Linked DNA regions of Homo sapiens: all the other regions are linked to region 6. Evidence: promoter capture Hi-C in 16 types of primary human blood cells and fetal thymus (Javierre and others, 2016). All regions are on one chromosome and are shown on one strand. The core of a region is centred on a gene start or on the middle of the fragment in contact, and the rest is flanking DNA. Distances in the headings are between cores, read along the strand shown. Region 1 overlaps GFPT1 (glutamine--fructose-6-phosphate transaminase 1). Region 2 overlaps GFPT1 (glutamine--fructose-6-phosphate transaminase 1). Region 3 holds the start of GFPT1 (glutamine--fructose-6-phosphate transaminase 1). Region 4 holds the start of PROKR1 (prokineticin receptor 1). Region 5 holds the start of LOC124907821 (a long non-coding RNA gene). Region 6 holds the start of ANTXR1 (ANTXR cell adhesion molecule 1). Region 7 holds the start of NFU1 (NFU1 iron-sulfur cluster scaffold).

What was found. The method cuts DNA at HindIII sites, captures the fragments that hold promoters and counts their contacts. A CHiCAGO score of 5 or more calls a contact.
Region 1: a fragment that was not itself captured here is called in contact with the fragment with the promoter of ANTXR1 in region 6 in 8 of 17 cell types (M2 macrophages, M1 macrophages, neutrophils and 5 more); the score reaches 15.9 in M2 macrophages.
Region 2: a contact is called between a fragment that was not itself captured here and the fragment with the promoter of ANTXR1 in region 6, in 4 of 17 cell types (endothelial precursors, M0 macrophages, M1 macrophages and 1 more). The highest score is 9.8, in endothelial precursors.
Region 3: the fragment with the promoter of GFPT1 here is called in contact with the fragment with the promoter of ANTXR1 in region 6 in 1 of 17 cell types (endothelial precursors); the score reaches 5.0 in endothelial precursors.
Region 4: a contact is called between the fragment with the promoter of PROKR1 here and the fragment with the promoter of ANTXR1 in region 6, in 5 of 17 cell types (total CD4 T cells, fetal thymus, total B cells and 2 more). The highest score is 6.9, in total CD4 T cells.
Region 5: a fragment that was not itself captured here is called in contact with the fragment with the promoter of ANTXR1 in region 6 in 6 of 17 cell types (M1 macrophages, megakaryocytes, M2 macrophages and 3 more); the score reaches 7.5 in M1 macrophages.
Region 7: the fragment with the promoter of NFU1 here is called in contact with the fragment with the promoter of ANTXR1 in region 6 in 3 of 17 cell types (M1 macrophages, endothelial precursors and M0 macrophages); the score reaches 7.4 in M1 macrophages.

Annotation. Positions count from the first base shown.
Region 1 is chr2:69,325,176-69,327,875 of GRCh38, forward strand. GFPT1 (glutamine--fructose-6-phosphate transaminase 1) reads right to left here. Exons shown (of 20, transcript NM_001244710.2): 19 at 1,739-1,900; 20 at 1-1,058. The coding sequence ends at 1,014. Among named protein-coding and RNA genes, the nearest start is that of GFPT1, 61 kb to the right of the region's middle. The HindIII fragment of the contact is 9,540 bases long and covers 1-2,700 here.
Region 2 is chr2:69,345,566-69,348,265 of GRCh38, forward strand. GFPT1 (glutamine--fructose-6-phosphate transaminase 1) reads right to left here. Exons shown (of 20, transcript NM_001244710.2): 11 at 2,606-2,700; 12 at 339-434. Among named protein-coding and RNA genes, the nearest start is that of GFPT1, 40 kb to the right of the region's middle. The HindIII fragment of the contact is 927 bases long and covers 983-1,909 here.
Region 3 is chr2:69,385,871-69,388,570 of GRCh38, forward strand. GFPT1 (glutamine--fructose-6-phosphate transaminase 1) reads right to left here and starts at 1,357. Exons shown (of 20, transcript NM_001244710.2): 1 at 1,195-1,357. The coding sequence starts at 1,201. RefSeq lists silencers at 937-1,606, 1,667-1,776 and an enhancer at 1,149-1,708. The HindIII fragment of the contact is 6,543 bases long and covers 1-2,700 here.
Region 4 is chr2:68,642,193-68,644,892 of GRCh38, forward strand. It overlaps PROKR1 (prokineticin receptor 1), which reads left to right and starts at 1,387. Exons shown (of 3, transcript NM_138964.4): 1 at 1,387-1,656. The HindIII fragment of the contact is 2,701 bases long and covers 1-2,019 here.
Region 5 is chr2:69,284,633-69,287,332 of GRCh38, forward strand. LOC124907821 (a long non-coding RNA gene) reads left to right here and starts at 2,189. Exons shown (of 2, transcript XR_007086810.1): 1 at 2,189-2,700. The HindIII fragment of the contact is 2,743 bases long and covers 1-2,700 here.
Region 6 is chr2:69,011,829-69,014,528 of GRCh38, forward strand. It overlaps ANTXR1 (ANTXR cell adhesion molecule 1), which reads left to right and starts at 1,351. Exons shown (of 18, transcript NM_032208.3): 1 at 1,351-1,823. The coding sequence starts at 1,672. The HindIII fragment of the contact is 7,309 bases long and covers 1-2,700 here.
Region 7 is chr2:69,436,116-69,438,815 of GRCh38, forward strand. It overlaps NFU1 (NFU1 iron-sulfur cluster scaffold), which reads right to left and starts at 1,320. Exons shown (of 8, transcript NM_001002755.4): 1 at 1,246-1,320. The coding sequence starts at 1,307. RefSeq lists an enhancer at 1,176-1,325. The HindIII fragment of the contact is 2,434 bases long and covers 981-2,700 here.

The DNA of each region.
Region 1 (2,700 bases), core at 51-2,550, 310 kb after region 6:
GCACTAAGGGACTAGTTTTATGCAACAATGTAATGAAGGAAAGTTAAAATTAACTACAGGAAATTCTTCCTCGTGACAAAGTTGAAGAGAATACTGAATATATCAATATTAATTTAATAGCAGCTCTGTGTTGTGATTTTAAAGAACAAGATAAAATATGTCATTCAGCAGTCATTTAAAAAATAAAAGACTACAGATACAAGGAAATAAAAACCACTTTTAGGAGATGAAAACACAAAGTAGTAGGATACCCAACATGTACACATCCCATCTTCAAATTTAAAATCATATTGTCAGTTGTCCAAAGCAGCTTGAATTTAAAGTTTGTGCTATAAAATTGTGCAAATATGTTAAGGATTGAGACCCACCAATGCACTACTGTAATATTTCGCTTCCTAAATTTCTTCCACCTACAGATAATAGACAACAAGTCTGAGAAACTAAGGCTAACCAAACTTAGATATAAATCCTACCAATAAAATTTTTCAGTTTTAAGTTTTACAGTTTGATTTAAAAACAAAACAGAAACAAATTTCAAAATAAATCACATCTTCTCTTAAAACTTGGCAAACCCTTCCCTAACTGTCCAAGTATGAGCATACACTGCCACTGGCTTTAGATACTCCAATTAAATGCACTACTCTTTCACTGGTCTGAATGAAGTATGGTGAAACAAGTACCAATTTTTAGAAACATATTGTCTTCTCAGATTGAAGTGGAGGGTCCAGAAATGCAACACCCAGCATTCTTTAAAGAAAATAATAGCTAGAATCTTTCTGATACAGATTCCAATATAGATTCCATTATTCAAAGTCCTCCACAAATTACTGGGAAAATGTAAGAGGTAACTTCACAAAAATCACATATTGAGTGGAATAATTATAACTGATATATAAATAAGGATTTACTAAAAAAAGGCTTCAAGGGGTGATATTTTAAATCAAGGTTTTAAATACAAAAGGTGTCTTGTGTTGCTTAATCATACAGTTTCGTACATTTTGTATAGATATTCCTCACTCTACAGTCACAGATTTGGCAAGATTCCGTGGGAAATCAACCTGCAAAAAGAAAAAAAAAAAAAGCAAGATTTGAGAGATTATATAGACTGGGGAAGGGGGTGGTTACTATAAGCAAATTATTTTTGTTTATAAAAACAGAAAACAATACATTCATTAACCATCTTTATTACAGACTACAAAGAATTAGATTAGAAAATATAATCACATAATGTGTCCTGAAAAAAACTGAAATTGGTTAGGAAAAAGCATTCTAAAGGTGCCAGTTCACACAGAAAGAGCTACTGTGGTCCTCTACAGAAGTAGTAGCCCTCATAGGGGACACTAAAAACAAAAGCACTATGTTTTGGTTGCCACAATGGCTGAGAAACCAGGAATGCTACAAAGTCTTCAATGTGTGGGACAGTTCCAAACAAAAAAGAATTGTCCTGCCAAATGCCAATAGCTGCCCTGTTAAGAGATAGAGGTTATATTAAGAAAACAGGTGGAGACTACCCAAGGTGAGTCACAATCTTGGAGGTGAACCCCAAGGTTCCTTCAAGTTCTATGGGTAAGAAGATGTTGTGATGTAACCTACAAATTGGGCCATGAAAATATAACAGGTGACAGATATATATTTGATAGATTTCTCAAACACTATTGTTAAAAATTTAGGAGAAAAAAATCAGAATGTATCCAGGTAAAAAACCATCCCAAGATTTCTGCAGTGGTAGATGACTTACATCATAGCCTCTCAGCACAGCAAGGTGGAAAGCCAGCAACTGTAAAGGGATCACGCTGAGAATGCCCTGCAAGCAGTCCACTGAGTGGGGCACCTTGATCGTTCTTTTTGTGTTCTTAATGGTCTCAGTATCCTCCTTATCACAAATTACCACAGGCCGCCCCTAGGAAAGAAAATCACACACATACACAACATCACTGGTGGGCAAAGGCAGGGCTATAGCTTACGAATGTGCAAAAATTGCACTGCATAATCCATATGAAGCCTCACGGACAGACTTCTTTAAATTCCTGTGTAGTAAATCTGATTGTTATTACTTATAGTCGAGGAAACAGAAGCGTTATGGGATCCAGTAATTTGTTTAAACTCATGCAACTAAGAAATACCAGGCTTAGTACTTGACTGCAGGTTTGCCTAACTTCAAAGCTCAAGTTCATTACCACCACATTGTGCTTAGGGAATAATATCTTTTGGAATTTATATATAAAGCCAACTGATCTGAAGAAAACTCAATTATATAATATTAAAATAAAACCTAGATGTTAGATTTCCCCTGAAATATATCGCGTGTGTGTAATTTTTTTTAATTTATTTTATTTACTGTTTTAGAGACAGGGTCTCACTATGCTACCCAGGCTGTATTCAAACTCCTGGACTCAAGTGATCCTCCTGCCTCAGTCCCCAGAGTAGCTGGGACTACAGTCATGTGCCACTGCAACCAGCTGAAATATATATTTAAAAATATTTTAAAATACATTTTTAAATGTTTTAGAAGTATTAAATTAAAAAGGAACAGCATATGTTAACTAAAAGAAGACAGGATGTGGAGACCAAGACCTCAGTTCTGGTCTTGGTTCTGCCCAATATGAGATCTATGACCTTGGTCTTCTTAAAGCTCTAAGTATCTGGGCCAGGCGGGGTGGCTCATGCCTGTAATCCCAGAACTTTGGGGGGTTGAGGCAG
Region 2 (2,700 bases), core at 196-2,695, 330 kb after region 6:
ACATTATTGTGCAACCATCACTACAATCCATTTCTGTAATTTCATCATCCCACAACTGAAACTCTGTACCCTTTAAACAGTGACTCCCCATTTCCCCTCCCCACAGCCCTTGGTAACCATTAATCTACTTTCTCTTTCTGTGAATCTGACTATTCTAGATATCTTATATAGGTAGAATCACACACTAAAGAACTTTTTCCAAGATGGCTGGGCTCCACTGATGGCTGGCAGCTGTAGTTGTTCTACAAGGCTATTAAGGGCAATGAACTTTCAGGTTGTTAATGGCACCTCCTACTGTCAGAGACACTGAAATAATAAAATAATTCATATGTAATTACCAGTATAGTCATCAAAGTTGACTCTTCCTCTCATTGTGTTCACGACAGACTCTGGCTGCTCAAATATTTCCTTCTGCATAAATGAACTGAAGTTGCCTATAGTAATAGAAATCACATAATTAAAACAAAAACAAATCAAATAAAAGAATTTGTACACAACTAAAAGTTTCCTTTAATATAATCTTGGTAAATAAAATATAACAAAAGTTCATGCAATAGACATGACTGCCTAAAAGATTGGGTGAACATATTTTACTCTGTGGAAAAAAATAACAGTAAAAGTCACTTTTAATTAACTTCATACTTGAAATGTGCAGTTACAACAAGTGAATGAGACAAGCTTTTTTTTTTTTGAGACGGAGTCTTGCTCTGTCACCCAGGCTGGAGTGGAGTGGCATGATGTAGGCTCACTGCAATCTTGGCCTCCTGGATTCAAGGGATTCCCCTGCCTCAGCCTCCTGAGTAGCTGTGACTACAGGCGTGTGCTACCACGCCCGGCTAATTTTTTGTATTTTTAGTAGAGACAAGGTTTCACCATACTGACCAGGCTGGTCTCGAACTCCTGACCTCATGATCCAACCACCTCGGCCTCCCAAAGTGCTGGGATTACAGGCGTGAGCCACCGCACTCAGTCAACTGGGACAAGCTTTAAGTTTTGGAGTGCAACCCACCCAAACTGTAGTTCTATCCTTTACTATCTAAACTGGGGAAATTATTAATCTATAAAATAAGAGACCAATTACTTCACAGTATGGATTGTAGTATGGATTAATAAAGCAAAAAATCTGACATATATATATATAGAGTTATGCAATAAATGTTATTTCTTATTTTTACTTTTTTTTTTGAGACAGGGTCTTTGTCACCCAGACTGAAGTGATCACCGCAAGATCACCGCTCACTGCAGCCTCAATCTCCTGGGCTCAAGCAATTCTCACACCTCAGCCACCTGAGTAGCTGAGACTACAGGCACACACTACCATGCCCGGCTCATAGTTTTGTTTTGTTTTGTTTTGTTTTGTTTGAGACAGAGTCTCACTCTGTCGCCCAGGCTGGAGTGCAGCGGCACGATCTCACCTCACTGCAACCTCTGCCTCCTGGGTTCAAGTGATTCTCCCACCTCAGCCTCCCCAGTCACTGAGACTACAGGTACATGCCACCATGCCCATAATTTTCTTTGTATTTTTAGTAGAAACAGGGTTTTGCTATGTTGCTGAGGCTGGTCTTGAACTCCTGAGCTCTGGCAATCTGCCTGCTTCAGCCTCCCAAAGTGCTAGGATTACAGGTGTGAGCCAGTGCACCTGGACTTTTTTTTTTTTTAGTTTGTAGTAGAGATAAGGTCTCACTATGTTGCCCAGGCTGGTCTCAAACTCCTGAGCTCAAGTGATCCTCCTACCTTGGCCTCCCTAAGTGTTGAGATTACAGGCATGAGCCACCGTGCCTGGCCAATGTTAGTTTTTATTCCTACCACAATCCCATCAGAAAGGAATAAAATAATCCAAATCATAATAATTATAATAGTTAACAGAAGCAAATATTACATACGACTAAGTGTGTCAGACACTGTTTTAAGCTTCTTTTTTTTTTTTTTGAGACAGAGTTTTGCTCTTGTTGCCAAGGCTGGAGTGCAATGGCGCAATCTCGGCTCACTGAAACCTCTGCCTCCCGGGTTCAAGCCATTCTCCTGCCTCAGCCTCCCGAGTAGCTGGGATTACAGGCATGCGCCACCACACCCAGCTAATTTTGTATTTTTTAGTACAGTCGGGGTTTCTCCACGTTGGCAAGGCCAGACTGGTCTCAAACTCCCCACCTTAGGTGATCTGCCCACCTCGGCCTCCCAAAGTGCTAAGATTACAGGTGTGAGCCACCGCACCCAGCCATATAGTAGCTTCTTAATCCTCAAAACAACCTTAATGAGGCAGGCTATATTATCCTCATGTTATATATAAGAAAACTAAAGCACAAAGAGAATAAAAAGGAACAGAACATTAACTATTTTTATGTTTATAAAGTATCTTTAAAGTATCAAGTGTTAATAACCTTTTTATAATGTTACAAATAACAAATCATTAATTAGTTTGAAGACGATTGTAAAAACAGCAGATAATTTCTCTAAAGAATCATCCCTTTTCCTAGCGTTGTCCCTTCACTAATCATGTGGAAGATTCCACTCATCATTCATTACTAGATTTAATATGCTAGGAAAGGAAGTAGAATATATTCTTTCCAGTAAGGACAGCAAGCTATAACATGACAAAAACTTTCACCCTTCATGATCTGCTGGAGTTCCATCTGGAGTGTTTGCACAGCTCGTCCGGGGTGATCTCCTGCAGTTCGTTTAATTCGATGGATAGAAAGACGT
Region 3 (2,700 bases), core at 107-2,606, 370 kb after region 6:
CTCATTTTCAGAAGCTGAAATGAGCATAAAGTTAAATACAGGAAATATATACACTAACGAGTACAATCCACCTCCTGTTCAGTTCCTTCGTGTAAAAGGCTGCAAATAAGAAGTCTCCCAGAGAGTTTTCAATTCTCTTACAATGGTACTTCCCTTTAAAAAAAAAAAAAAAAAGTGTACTTTCTTCCAGGGATAAAGTCGGTTGTAAATTTCAATAAGAAAGGTAAGAATACAATTATTTTTACTGGCAATAGCCAAATTAACACCAATTTTAGAAGATATCAGTCATGTCAGACACGATTCTCAAAGTCTCTTTCACTAACACTTAGGTCATAATAAACGACTCTCAAAACATGGAATAAAAGGGCCTAACCTTAATTTTTTAAGGCTCTAGGAAAGATATTTGCTCAACTTTCCATAGCTAGTATTTTTAATGGATGCACATGCAAGGGATAAATGATATTTTTCATAGTTGGTATTCTAAAGGGGTATACATCCAAGGTATAACTGATATTTTTCAGAGCTGGCATTTTTAATGGGTGCACACGCAAATGATAAATTATGTATAACCTATCGCCACAGACATTTGAAGGCCTCTTCCACCAGAGGATCAGGTCTAAGCCCATGAACCAAGTTATTGATTAGCAATGGTTTCTGTTGAGACAAGGGATGGCAGGAAGTATCACGTTTAATGGCACTACCGTGGCTCTAGCTAGGGTCTGTTTTCTATTGGGCCTCCCCAGAAACAAGTAAAATATTTTTTTAAAGATTTTTAGAAAAATGCAAGGTAAGTTCAAGAGACCTCGCCCGAGGTTCCACAGGTTTCCTCACTCACCTGGTGGGCCCTTTTGAAGGCAACCCCCTCCACACCTCAATTCCCTCAGCTCTCTCCTCCTTTTTCAATAAAGGCGTTTCTCTCCCCTTTCGGTTCCTTCTCCGCGCCAAGGCGCCCGCTAGCCCCCGGCAAAGGGGGCCCGCCTTCCTCTCAGGTGCCTTTCTCCCGGCCGCCACCCCCTCTCCCGCCCGTGGATGCCGGCCCCCGCCCCCGCAGCCACCACTGGGCGCCCCTTGCCCATCACCCAGACTTCGCACCCTCCACACTCCCGCTTCCGCCCGTCGCCTTGGGCCTTAGCGGCACCCGCACCGCACCCCAGCGCCACCCGGCAACACGCCCCCCGCTCCCGGCCCCCTTACCACACATGATGCCGGAGACACGGCCCGCGAGGCCAGGGGCGAGTGGCTGGCGGGATCGGGGGTGCACACACGAGCTTCGGTGGGCAATCTGCGGGCTCGGGGGCCGGGGTGGCGCCGACACGACTCCCTCGGGGATGCGACGGCCAAGGCAACGACAGCCTTCTCCGCCTCCCGGGCTCCGCCAGCAACCGCCGCCGGGCCCCGCCCCTCGGCGCGCAGCGCGCCGCCGCCCGTAGGCTCCATTGAACCGCTCACGCGCCGCTCACGCGCAAGTCCCGCCTCCCAGCGCTGCCCCGCCCCCCGAGCCCACGCAGGCGCTGGACTGCTGGCGGCGGCGACGTGGCAGTGGCTCGTGGCCGCGTCCGCCTGGAGTTCCTGGAGACGCCCGCCCCGGGGCGAGCCGCGGGAGGGACCGAGCCGAGAGGGAGGGAGAAACTCAGCACCTGGCAGGGAATGACGGAAAGAGAAGGATGGAATTGTTAGCAAAGCAATAGCCCGGGTGCGTGCCCCGTGCAGCCCCAGGCCCCAGGCGCCAGCACTGCACGAAGCGAGGAAAGAGGAGGAAAAAAGCAGGAAGTATGAAAAGGGAATCCTGGGGAACATAAGGCTGAAAAAAATTGCAAAGAATTAGGTTGAGGTGGGAGGAGAGAGATAACAAAATTCTTGACTGTAAAGCCCCAAAGGTCAGCCTCTCTGGTAATAAGCAATTCAATTCCTTGTGTAATATGCTTGGCCCCTAAAAGCCCTCCGCATCCGTTGCCTCCATAACCCTCAGTTTATTGTGGAGGGGTAGAGGAGGAATGTAAGGCTCAACTATCCGACTATGAGCCTGGACGTAAGAAACTGCTGGCCCACCTCCTCCCATGACCCACCTGAGACGGCTAGGAATTCCCTAGCTTTAACAGCCGCGCGTTTGACTTACGAACGATTCATTCTATGAATTAATGCGCCATGTCTGACAAGAGAGACTTGATTAGAGAGGGATGATGTTTCTGAGAATTTATTACCTGGGCATTTGCTTTAAACAGCCTTAAATGGTATCTTTAGTCAAATGTGGAGTAATCAGAACTCTATAATGGCTCTAGAGTAGAGTAGTATCAAAAACGTACATGGCACACAGAATTCCTGGAGTGCTGACTGCTGTTCATGTGTCTGGTCTTAGCCTGCTGACTGCTGTTCATGTGTCTGGTCTTAGCCGTCCTTCCAGCCCTATACACTCCCAACAGGCTCAACAGGTAGTTCCTCAACTGGGCCAAGATTCTCAAATCTTTTGCACACTTTGGTTACTCTGCATAGAATCCCCACCACGTCTCTGTTTAGATGCTACCTCTTCAGGAAAGCCTTTTTTATCCCCCCTAGACAGACTTGGAGACATGCATTAACCTCTTACTCTTTGAGCTACTCACTGTAAAGAAATATTCTTTGATATTTTATGATTTTCTGTATTTTCCCACTGGGCTGTAAGTTTCTTGAAGCTAGAACTAGATTTTACATACCCAACACTTT
Region 4 (2,700 bases), core at 137-2,636, 370 kb before region 6:
TGTGTATTAGTTCACTTGCACACTGCTGATAAAGACATACCGGAAACTGGGAACAAAAGGAGGTTTAATTGGACTTACAGTTCCACATGACTGGGGAGGCCTCAGAATCAAGGCAGGAGGTGAAAGGCATTCCTTACGTGGTAGCATCAAGAGGAAACTGAGGGAGAAGCAAAAGTGGAAACCCCTGATAAACCCACAGGATCTCGTCAGGCTTATTCACTATCACGAGAATAGCATGGGAAAAACAGGCTCCCATGATTCAATTACCTTCCCCTGGGTCCCTCCCACAATACGTGGGAATTCTGGGAGATACAATTCAAGTTGAGATTTGGGTGGGGACACAGCCAAACCGTATCACCCTGCTTTTAATTTTTTGGGTTAGACACCCGGAAGTGGAAACACTCGATCATATGGTAATTGTATTTTTTAACTTTTTGAGGAAACCCTATACTGTTTTCTACAGTGGCTTCACCATTTTACTTTCCTACCGACAGTGCACAGGGTTCCAGTTTCTCCACATTCTCACCAACACTTGTTATCATTTCTTTTTACAGCTGGATAATATTCTATTGCATGTATATACTATATGTATTTTGTTAATCCACTTAGCTGATGGACATTTGGGTTGTTTCTGTCTTTTGGCTACTGTGAATAGTGCTGCCATGAACATCAGTGTATGTGTGTCCCTGCTTTCAATAGTTTGGGGTTACATACCTTGGAGTGGGATTGCGGGACTATATGCCTCACGTTTTGAGGAATCTATGGGCTTGTAAAGGTAGACTGTGCTCTGTAAGTCAGCGCTGTCCGTCCCAGCCTTCTAAGCAGACATCCCTGGGCGGGGGTCCTTCCTCTCTCCAGTGTGCTACCCCGCCCCCTTGTTTGCTCTCCAGAAAGCACTTCTCTGAGCCTCTTTTACGGAGAGGTAGGGCAGCTGGCAACAAAGATGGCCCTGGTGTCCGTTCAGGCTGGCCCAGGGGACCAGGTTGGGGCCGGCCCCTGAGTGTCCCCTGAGGAGGTGTGTGAGCAGCGGGGGAGGCTCCTCGGTCCTTTGCAAGCTCGCGGCTGAGCGGGGCCGTGTCCGTCCACTCCGACGGCGCTGGGCTGCCAAGGTGAGCCGCCGAGGAGCCCCGTGCCCCGAGGCGGGCACAGCCGCCCTGCATGGGTGCCCCCGGCGCGGGATTGACGCAGAGCCCTGCCCGGAGCCCCAGCGACCCCGTTCCTGCCCCAGGCGGCCGTTCCGAAGCCTGAGCCGGGCAACGCGCAGCCCGCCTGGCCCGGCTCCCTCCCGCGCGTCCTCGTCGCGAGCTGCCGCCTGGGAGCTCCAGACGCTCCCGCCCAGGGCGATCCGGACGCTCCCGCCCAGGGCGATCCCGGCCTCTGCAGCCCAGCTGGCGACACGCCTCGCCAAGAGCCCGCACCTCGGCGCCTCACGGCCACCGGAGGCGGGGACAGGGAGTCCGGCGCGGGCCGGGTCGGGGGATCTGCAGCGGCGGCGCGAAGGTAACTCCCCCGCCAGAGCCGGGAAAGAGCCCCGAGCAGAGGAGGAAGGGAGCGGGGACCTGCCCTTCGCCTGCCGGCTTCTGGAAGAAGCGTCTCCTGATCCGGCCCCGGAATAAGAAACCCGGACCTTGCCTGCCGGGCTCCGCGATGCCGCAGGTACAGAGCGCGCCCTCCCGGGGAGGATGCTCCAGGGACCCCGCGCTGCACTGGCTGCGGCCGTGGGGTGCGGCGGCTTCTGAGTGAAGAGGGGACTTTGCCAGGGATTCACTCCTGTGAGTTTCTTCAGGAGAGCCAGGCTTCCCCTCCTCTGTCCTTAGGGGAAGCTGCCCAGGCTCCAGGGAGAAAGTTGGGAGCAGGCGGGGGACTTGCCAGCAGGGGTTTGTGAGAGAGGCTTCTAGCGATCGAGAGGTCACCAGGTGGGGGTAGGATTGGGGTTCCCCTCTGAACGGTGAGAATAAAGGAGAAAAGACCTCTGGACAATCATCCTTAATCTCGTGACGCCCTCCTCTCCACCCCCGAAGCTTCTGTATTCTTTGCTTTTAAACACTACTTTGACCCTTCAGGTAGCATGCTTGTAGGGGTACCCCTCCAGGAGTGGCATGCCTCTGCGACCCACGGGACCTGCAAGGAGTGGGGCTTGTCCCGCCTGGGTTCCAAGCCTGCCCCCCTCCTTCTTTTCAGCTGAGTTCTGCCTCTCCTCCCTGAGTGGGCAGAGGGCAAGGGCTGAGCCAGACAGAATTGAGAGCTCGGAGGAAGGAAAAAATCAGGGTAAGGAGTTAGGACAGAGAGGCAGCAATGGGGCTGAGCCTCACTGGGGCGCAGAGGGACTTTAAACTTGGCCCCAAGAAGACAGGCTCCAGATGTTTTGCCTCGGAGGAATATGGAGAGCAGGCTTTCCTGGGGGTGGGGAGGTGGGGTCCTGGGCATCTTCCTCATCTTCCTTTCCCAGGAAAACTCTGGCTTGCATTCTTCCCTCTGTTCTCCTGACATTTGTTTTAGGGTGCTCTCCAGACCTCAGCCCTCCTTCTACGTCCCACTCCCTGGTCTGATGTCTTCAGGGTTTGGGAGGGACTGCAGGGAGAGAGCAGGGGACAGGGGGACTCTGGCTGCCTCCCTGTCCCCACCAGGGCAGCTGACACCCCCCTAGACCCCTCACCCCAGCCCCATTATGTGGTGTGGTGGAGTCCCTGTATCAGGATT
Region 5 (2,700 bases), core at 116-2,615, 270 kb after region 6:
TGTTTTAAATTTGAGACAGAACCTCCTCTGTTGCCCAGGCTGGAGTGTAGTGGCACAATCTCAACTCACTGCAACCTCCACCTGCTAGGCTCAGGCAACCTTCCCTGCCTCAGGCTCCCAAGTACCTGGGATTACAGGTGCTCACCACCACACCTGGCTAATGTTTGTACATTTAGTAGAGATGAGGTTTTGCCCTGTTACCCAGACTGGTCTTGAATTCCGGGGCTCAATCGATCCAACTGCCTCAGCCTCCCAAAGTGTTGGGATTACAGGCTTGAGCTACTGTGCCTGGCCTAAGCCATTTTATATAAGAGACTTAAGCACTGATAGACTTTGATATCCATGGAACCAATTTCCCCATAAATACTAACGGACAACTGTATGTATATGTGTGTTATTACATTTCCATTTTACAGATAAGAAAAACAAAATGCAAGAACTTAAGGTCACACAGTAAGTAGGTGAGCTGAGAATTAAACATGATCAAAACCTTTACCTTAACCCTTATATTACATGGTAGTGGTACTTAATAGGATTGTCATAAAGACCAAGTGAGATAATTCATGCAAATATTTAGCTCTGTGACTAGCACATATTAAGCACTCAACAAATTTAGCTACTATTGTTTGTTGTGGTGGTTCTGTATCCAGAATTATACATTTAATATTCATCACAAATTCTTCAGTTGAGGTCCTATTATTCCTATATTATAGATTTTTAAAAAGACTCAGAATTAATGATGTGACTGGGATTTCAAAGCAAGTTCTTGCTCCAAAAAACTGTCTTGTTCCAAATCCAAACTAAACGACCCCTATTTTCTATTTATTAATCTCCTTCTAACTCTATTCAAGAAAAGAATTTCAATCTGCCCTTGTTGGAAAAATTCCAGCCAAGCTCAGGAGCTAGATTGTGGTGGTTCTTTTGGAGGATTATGATGAGAGACAGGTGAAGAGGGCCCCACCCATGAGATGAAATGGATCTGGCAGGCCTTGAAGCTGCTTGGATCTCTGCAGGCCTAAGTACTAGTTTACATGGATTATAATAGAGCTAGGCCTGGCTAGAGGACCCTAACAAATGATATAAACTAAAACCCATTATGCCACTAAAAATAAACTACCGAATTGAGTCAGAGAAAAATCTCTCCATTAAACAGGGCTTGATGAAATTCTAACAAAAGTTCACACACAAGACCCAAAGACACAAGCAATAAGAAAAAGATAAACAAATTTGACTCAAATCGAATTTTTTAAGTATTTTTAAGCAGAAGATGTAACTAAGGCATCCTAGGCAAATGCAGCCTGGAAGTTGGCATTCACAGTGAGTATAACCGACAAGGAAGTGGTATCCAGAAAAACGTCTTTAAAGCTCCTACAAGTCAGTAAAAATAAGAAAAACTGCTCACCAGGAAAAACTGGGCCCAGATGTTCAGGCCTCCACCATAAGATCACAGGAAGGTTTGCATTTCACATCCTGTTTCTCAAGAAATATGGCCTACGCTTCTGTATTAGTCCGTTTTCAAACTGCTATAAAGATACTACTCAAGACTGCATAATTTATAAAGGAAAGAGGTTTTTAATTGACTCACAGTTCCACTTGGCTGGGGAGGCCTCAGGAAACTTACAATCATGGCGAAAGGGGAAGCAGGTGTGTCTTACATGGCAGCAGGGTAGAGAGATAGTGTGAGAGCGCAGGAAAAGCTACCATTTATAAAACCATCAGATCTCATGAAAATTCACTCACTATCACGAGAACAGCATGGAGGAAACCACCCCCATAATCCAATCACTTCACTCCTTCCACACATGGGGATTACAATTAGAGATGAGACTTGGGTGAGGACACAGAGCCAAACCATATCACCTTCAACTGAGCAATCTGCTCCTAGGTGTACATACCCTAACCTTCCAGGAGACATGAATCAGAATGTTCCCTGCAGCATTATTTGTAATAGTGAGCAATAAAAACACCTAGATGGATAAACAATTGGTGGCATATTCACAAAAATGAACTAGAGATAGTGGTATCTGCATGGATACATCTCATAAATATAATAGTTTAAAAAAGCAAATGGCATTTATTGTGGATCACGAGGTCAGGAGATCGAGACCATCCTGGCTAACACAGTGAAGCCCCATCTCTACTAAAAAAAATACAAAAAAATTAGCCGGGCGTGGTGGCAGGCATCTGTGGTCCCAGCTACTCGGGAGGCTGAGGCAGGAGAATGGCGTGAACCCGGGAGGCGGAGCTTGCAGTGAGCCAAGATCGCACCACCACACTCCAGCCTGGGCGACAGAGCGAGACTCCATCTCAAAAAAAAAAATTAAAATTAAAAAAAAAATAAATTATTCTCCAAACTTTTAGTAAGTCTGACATTTTTCATAATTAAAAAAACATAAAATCTTTTCTAATGAGAATTGTAGGGCCAGAGGCACAGAGGGTTCCTGGGGAAAGAATGTTCAATAAACAGCAAGCAGCAACTTTTTCCTGTGTCAAGTCTATTGGTCCTGCCAGGTGCCAGGAGCTGGAGGGTGATGAAAATGTTCAGACTCATTGCTGCCCTCAGATGGCTTGTGATCTAACTGGGTAAGAATCAAATCAGTGGCAATGCCAGTCAGGAGTGAAGCAACAAGGCCACAACAATATGTGGCAGTCACTCACCAGCCACCAGCCCACAGGAGCAGAGGCTCCTGGGACATCTGG
Region 6 (2,700 bases), core at 101-2,600:
CCTCCTTGGGGCTGCTTGTGTGTTCTCACGACATGGCAGTGGGCTCTCCTACAGTGAGTGATCCAAGAGAGAAGGGAAAAACCACAACATCTCTCATGGCCTATCCTCAGAAGCCACACACCATCTTCTTAATTACTCACAGGTCAGTCTCACCCAAGGTGGAAGGGGTGTGAATTCCAGGAGGTGAGAAACACTGGGTTCATTTTGGAGGCAGGTCAGTGCTACGCATGACAAATCTTCAAGGCTGATTTGACAACATGATTATTGGTTAGTGGAGCATTCCAAGACACTAAGATTCCATGGTACACATGTTGGGGGAAACCACCATGGACTGTCACATTGGGGTATAAGGGTCTGGGAGGCACACAAGTGGAGGGGAATATGTGTGTCTGGAGGAAGAATCCTGGGAAAACAGTACATGCATATGCACTGAGGGCTCCCAGAGCGGAAGACAATAGGAAGCTAGAACTGGGGTACCACTCGGAACTGGGGCTCAGAGGCTGATTCTCCAATTTAGAGAGGCTAGCACGGAACTTCCCTGCCAATTCCAAACTGCTTGGAGCGTCTCTACTCTTGTAAGCTGTTTACTTCCTCCATCCTAAATCAAAGATAGAGAGAAAATGTCAAAGTTCACAGGCTGAAAAGAAGAACTATTATCATAGAATCCCTAAAAGATGGAGATGGTGGCCATCTAGAAGGCTCAGCTGTTCCATGCCGGGAGCAGCCCTAAGTACCACACTCTGTGGGGTTGTTTGTGATGGTTTCAGACCGGACCCCAACAGTCTCTTTTATGGTCCAGACAGACTAAGACCATGTAAGGTCACTCTGATGACTCATACCACAAAGGTCCCGTTTTTCCCCTACTTCATCTGCACAATGGTTTGTTTGCAAAGGTCCTAGCCTGGGGAGCCGGAGTCACCGTGGTTGGAGGAAACAAATTCTCATCCAATGTTTAGTGACCTTATCAAAAGATGCAGGATAGGGAAGGAAAAGAAGGAATAGAAGGACTACAGAGAATGGAGAGGCGGTCACGGAAAAAGAAAGGGAAAGTGCGTGGGAAGAAGGAAGGAGTAAGAAAACACGCACAGCTCACATGAGAATGGTAAGGACAAGGAAATTTATACGCGAAGCCTGGAAGCGCCCCCGCCCCCGACGCACTCCCGCGGGTCCCACGCGTGCTTTCGCCGCCTTTGTCCACAAGGTGGCAGCCTTTGAACTTTCTTCCCCGTAAGAACGCGAAAGGGGGGCAGAGAGGAAGGAGAGAAGGCAAAGCACTGCCCCCACCAAGAACAATTTGAAACCCCCCCCCCCCCCCATCATATTTAAAATCTGGGACAAAGAACCGTCGGGACGGAACTCCTTCCATTGCAAAAGCTCGGCGCGGCCTCGGGAGCTGCCCGGCGGCCCCGGACCGAGGCAGCCCTCCCCTTTAAAAGAAGCGGAGGACAGGATTGGGATCCTTGAAACCCGAAACCCAGAAACAGCATCGGAGCGGAAACCAGAGGGGAAACCTTGAACTCCTCCAGACAATTGCTTCCGGGGAGTTGCGAGGGAGCGAGGGGGAATAAAGGACCCGCGAGGAAGGGCCCGCGGATGGCGCGTCCCTGAGGGTCGTGGCGAGTTCGCGGAGCGTGGGAAGGAGCGGACCCTGCTCTCCCCGGGCTGCGGGCCATGGCCACGGCGGAGCGGAGAGCCCTCGGCATCGGCTTCCAGTGGCTCTCTTTGGCCACTCTGGTGCTCATCTGCGCCGGGCAAGGGGGACGCAGGGAGGATGGGGGTCCAGCCTGCTACGGCGGATTTGACCTGTACTTCATTTTGGACAAGTAAGTGCCGCGAGTTGTCCCCCCCACCCCAGGCTAAGCGGGCGAAAACGCTTTCGCCCCGGGCCGGGCTCGTTGGCAGGGTCGCCTGGGGACAGGAGCGCATCTCCAGGGCCACAGAGGGACCGCGCGGCAGGCGGCGGCGGAGTGCTGCGCCTTTGTTGGGGCGCGCTCCTCCCAGCCTCGGCTCCAGAGCCCGCAGCCGAGGCGACGCCGCTTGCTCGGAAGGGGACAGACTTCTTTTCTGTCTTGCTTTCTGTGTCCCAGGAGCAGGCAAGGGGCTTGGAGGATGCTATTGTCTTGCTGAGTTTCTGTGACTCCCTCCCGTGTTGGTGGGAAAGGCTTGCTTACCAAAGGCAGAACTTGCAGGCACAGGCACTCCTAAAGTTAGAGGCTTGGGCATTTTAAAGCCAATCGTCGCATTTTGTTTTTGTTTTTGTTTTTTTGTTTTGTTTTGAAACGCTGTCCCACGGAAGGCATTATCTTTGCTCCTAATCATGTAATGCATACTTCTCACCGGGCACTGAGTGAGAATGAAAGGCAGGGTTTCTTAACCTTGGCACTTCTGAGATTGAAACCTGGTAATTCTTTGTGGTGGGGGCTGTCCTGCGCGTTGTAGGATGTTTAGCAGCATCCTTGGCCTCTGCCCACTGGATGCCAGTAACATCCCCCGCCCCCCACTCCTTCCTTATTAGTGGTGACAACTAAAAATGCCTCCAGACATTGCCAAATGTCCCTCCCCTTCGACTTGAGTACCCCAGATGTAGTGAATTCAAGCTCTTGGCCATTTGACTGGTGGGCTACCAGGGAGGTGCAGGAGCCCTGGTTTCCTTGCAAAAAGTGGTTAGGCTTTAGGATTTGCTCAAGGGAGAGCTGAATT
Region 7 (2,700 bases), core at 70-2,569, 420 kb after region 6:
AGACTGCATACTCATTAAGGGGAGAAACTATCTTCATTTCTAGCTGCTAGCACAATGGCCTCAGTTCTTCATCTCTACAATGAGATTAGTTTCACAGCTACCTCATAAATAATCCAGAGAATCCATGTAAAGTGCTTAAACCAGTGCCAGGCCATGCAGTAAGTGCTCAATAAATGGCAGCTGCTACCATTATTTAATTGGTGCCCAATAATTACTAATTGAGTGCAGTTCAAGGTTTGGGGTAAAAATGCCTTTTTCTATAGCTCAGTATCTAAATCTGTGAATACTCTGGAATTTGGAAATGCACTAGAAGAATAATATTCTCGTCCCTTCAGCCCAGGGAAAAGGCAGCAGAATGAATAAAGAGGAAGCACATTCCAACATACAGGTTTAAAGTCTTGTTTTTTTAAAGTAAGAGTGGATTACATTATTCAAGGAAGACATCTACTCAAACACAGGAGGTAACTAACAAAAAATTCTACCAACTTAAATCTTTTTAGGATATACATTTAAACTTCAAGAGCACCATTAACACTACAATGTCTAATACTCTAGAGGGCAAACTCTCCGTAGGCCATTTTCTCCAGACGTAAAATTAAGGTACACCTACATAAATGTCCTCTTAGCAATGTTCACAGAAGTCTTTGAAAGGTGAAACTCAAAGGTAGGGCTCAGGGAGGCGGAAAAAACAAGGGAACAGAGTGGGCTTAATGGTGGTGGGTGCAGGGAATCTAGGGGTCCTGGTTCTCGTCGGAATTCCATCACTTAGAAACTGTGTAACCTTGGACATGTCACCTCCTCTTTCAGGGCCTTACTGGGAAAATGAGGAAACGAGACAAGGTATTTTCTTCCCTTCTGTGTGACATTCTGATTCTGCGTTTAGAAGAGGAGGGAATGCACCCGGTAGAGGGCCTGGGGGCGGGAGAGGCACACGATTTTAAAACAGCTCCTCCGTTCTGGCTCTACAGCCAGTCTCTACAAGCTTCCGTACCGCAGAGACTCAAGAACTGGGTCTCTGAGCCTGAGAGGAAGCTCCAGAGAGTCCGCCCGGATTAGGCCACAGAAGCGCCGAGCTCCCGCACAGACAGCCTCAGGGCTCACCCCCAACTACGGCGACAGGGCGGACCCGCCGGCTCCATCAGATGCACTACCCACCCGCCTCGAGAGAGGGTCTGCAAGGCGGCGACCGCTCCGCTGGCTAAGCCCAGCGGCACACCTATTCGGAGCTCCAGGCTCGTCACCTACCGCCTGCGCAGCCCGGCGGCAACAGCCGCAGCTCCCCAGCCCCGCCTGGCCGTCGCCGCCATCTTAGTCCGGAGTGCCTAAGGGTCTCCCTGACAGAACCACGAAAGATCTGCGCAGCCGCAGGCTGGCCGGTAGCTGGGCGGGCACTGGGAAGAGCCCACCCTACCGGCTGCGGGCGGTCCTGCTGCGGATAAGTGCGGTGGCCTACGCGCCGAGGTTTGCAGGCTACTGCGTCACCCTGACCAAGAGAGGCCGGGGAACCTTTCCCGTTTGCGCCAACGCTTGGTTAATTCACGCAGCACTGTGAACGCATGCGTGTTTCCGTACTTTGTTTTCCCTGTTGGCTAGGTTTTTAGCTGGTGCTGGTGCTGCCTTGCGAATGCTGTTTCCAGCCCCTAAACCTGACCCATTCCCTCCTCTAGGACCCTACTCAGCCTCCAGGCCCAGCTCAGTGACTGCCCCCAAAGACTCCCTGGAGCATTCCTTCTAAAAGGTTCTCGCATTTCTCCTGCCCTTTTCCCATGGGTCTGATGTGGAACTGTGTCTAACCCTTCCTCATAGCTGTGCTTGTCAGCTGCCACTTGGTCATCTTGGACCAACCCGCACAGAGGATGTATCTGGTACAGTGCTGCCCTTCTCCGATTAACATGAGACTTGACTAGTTTCCAGGGCAGAGTGCCAAAGCCCATTACCTATTCTTCCAGAACCTTCCTGGAGTATTCCGTTTTCTCTAGGACAACGGTTCTCAAAGTGCGGACTAGGGGCCAAAAAAAAGCAGGAGAACACGTTAGAAATGCACGTTAGAACATGTTAGAAATCCTGGGCCCCACTTTATACTTACTGAGGCACAATCTCTGTAGGTGGGGACTAGAAATCTTTGTTACTTGCTTTTTTTTTTTTTCTTTTTCCAGAGACAGGGTCTATCTCTGTTGCCCAGGCTGGAGAGCAGGAGTGCGATCATAGCTCACCAAAACCAACTCCTGGGCTCAAGTGATTCATCCTCCAGCCTCAGCCTCCCAAAGCACTGGGATTACAGGTGTGAGCCACGGTGCCTGGCTTTTATTAGCAGTAGTAGTAGTAGTATTTTTGTAGAGAAGAGGTCTCCCTGTGTTGCCTGGGCTGCTCTTGAACTCTGCTGGCCTCAAGTGATCCCTCTCACCTGGGCCTCCAAAAGCTCTTAGGTTACCTCACCCTGCCTAGTAGTGTTTTAACAAACCCTTCCCAGGATTCTGATGCCAGCTAAAATTTGAGAATCACTGTTCTGGAAGACAGAGGACTGGTTTCCAGAATGGAAACAGCACACCTGTTGTTGAACAGGTTGAGGCCACACCCAAGACAACCCTAGTAATTTCTATGGCCCACAGACACATCTAAGAGGGTGGGTGGGTTTCAGGCCTGCAGCTCGCCCGGGCCCGCACACTGAGTGGGCTGTGCCTCCTACGAGTTTGGTTCATT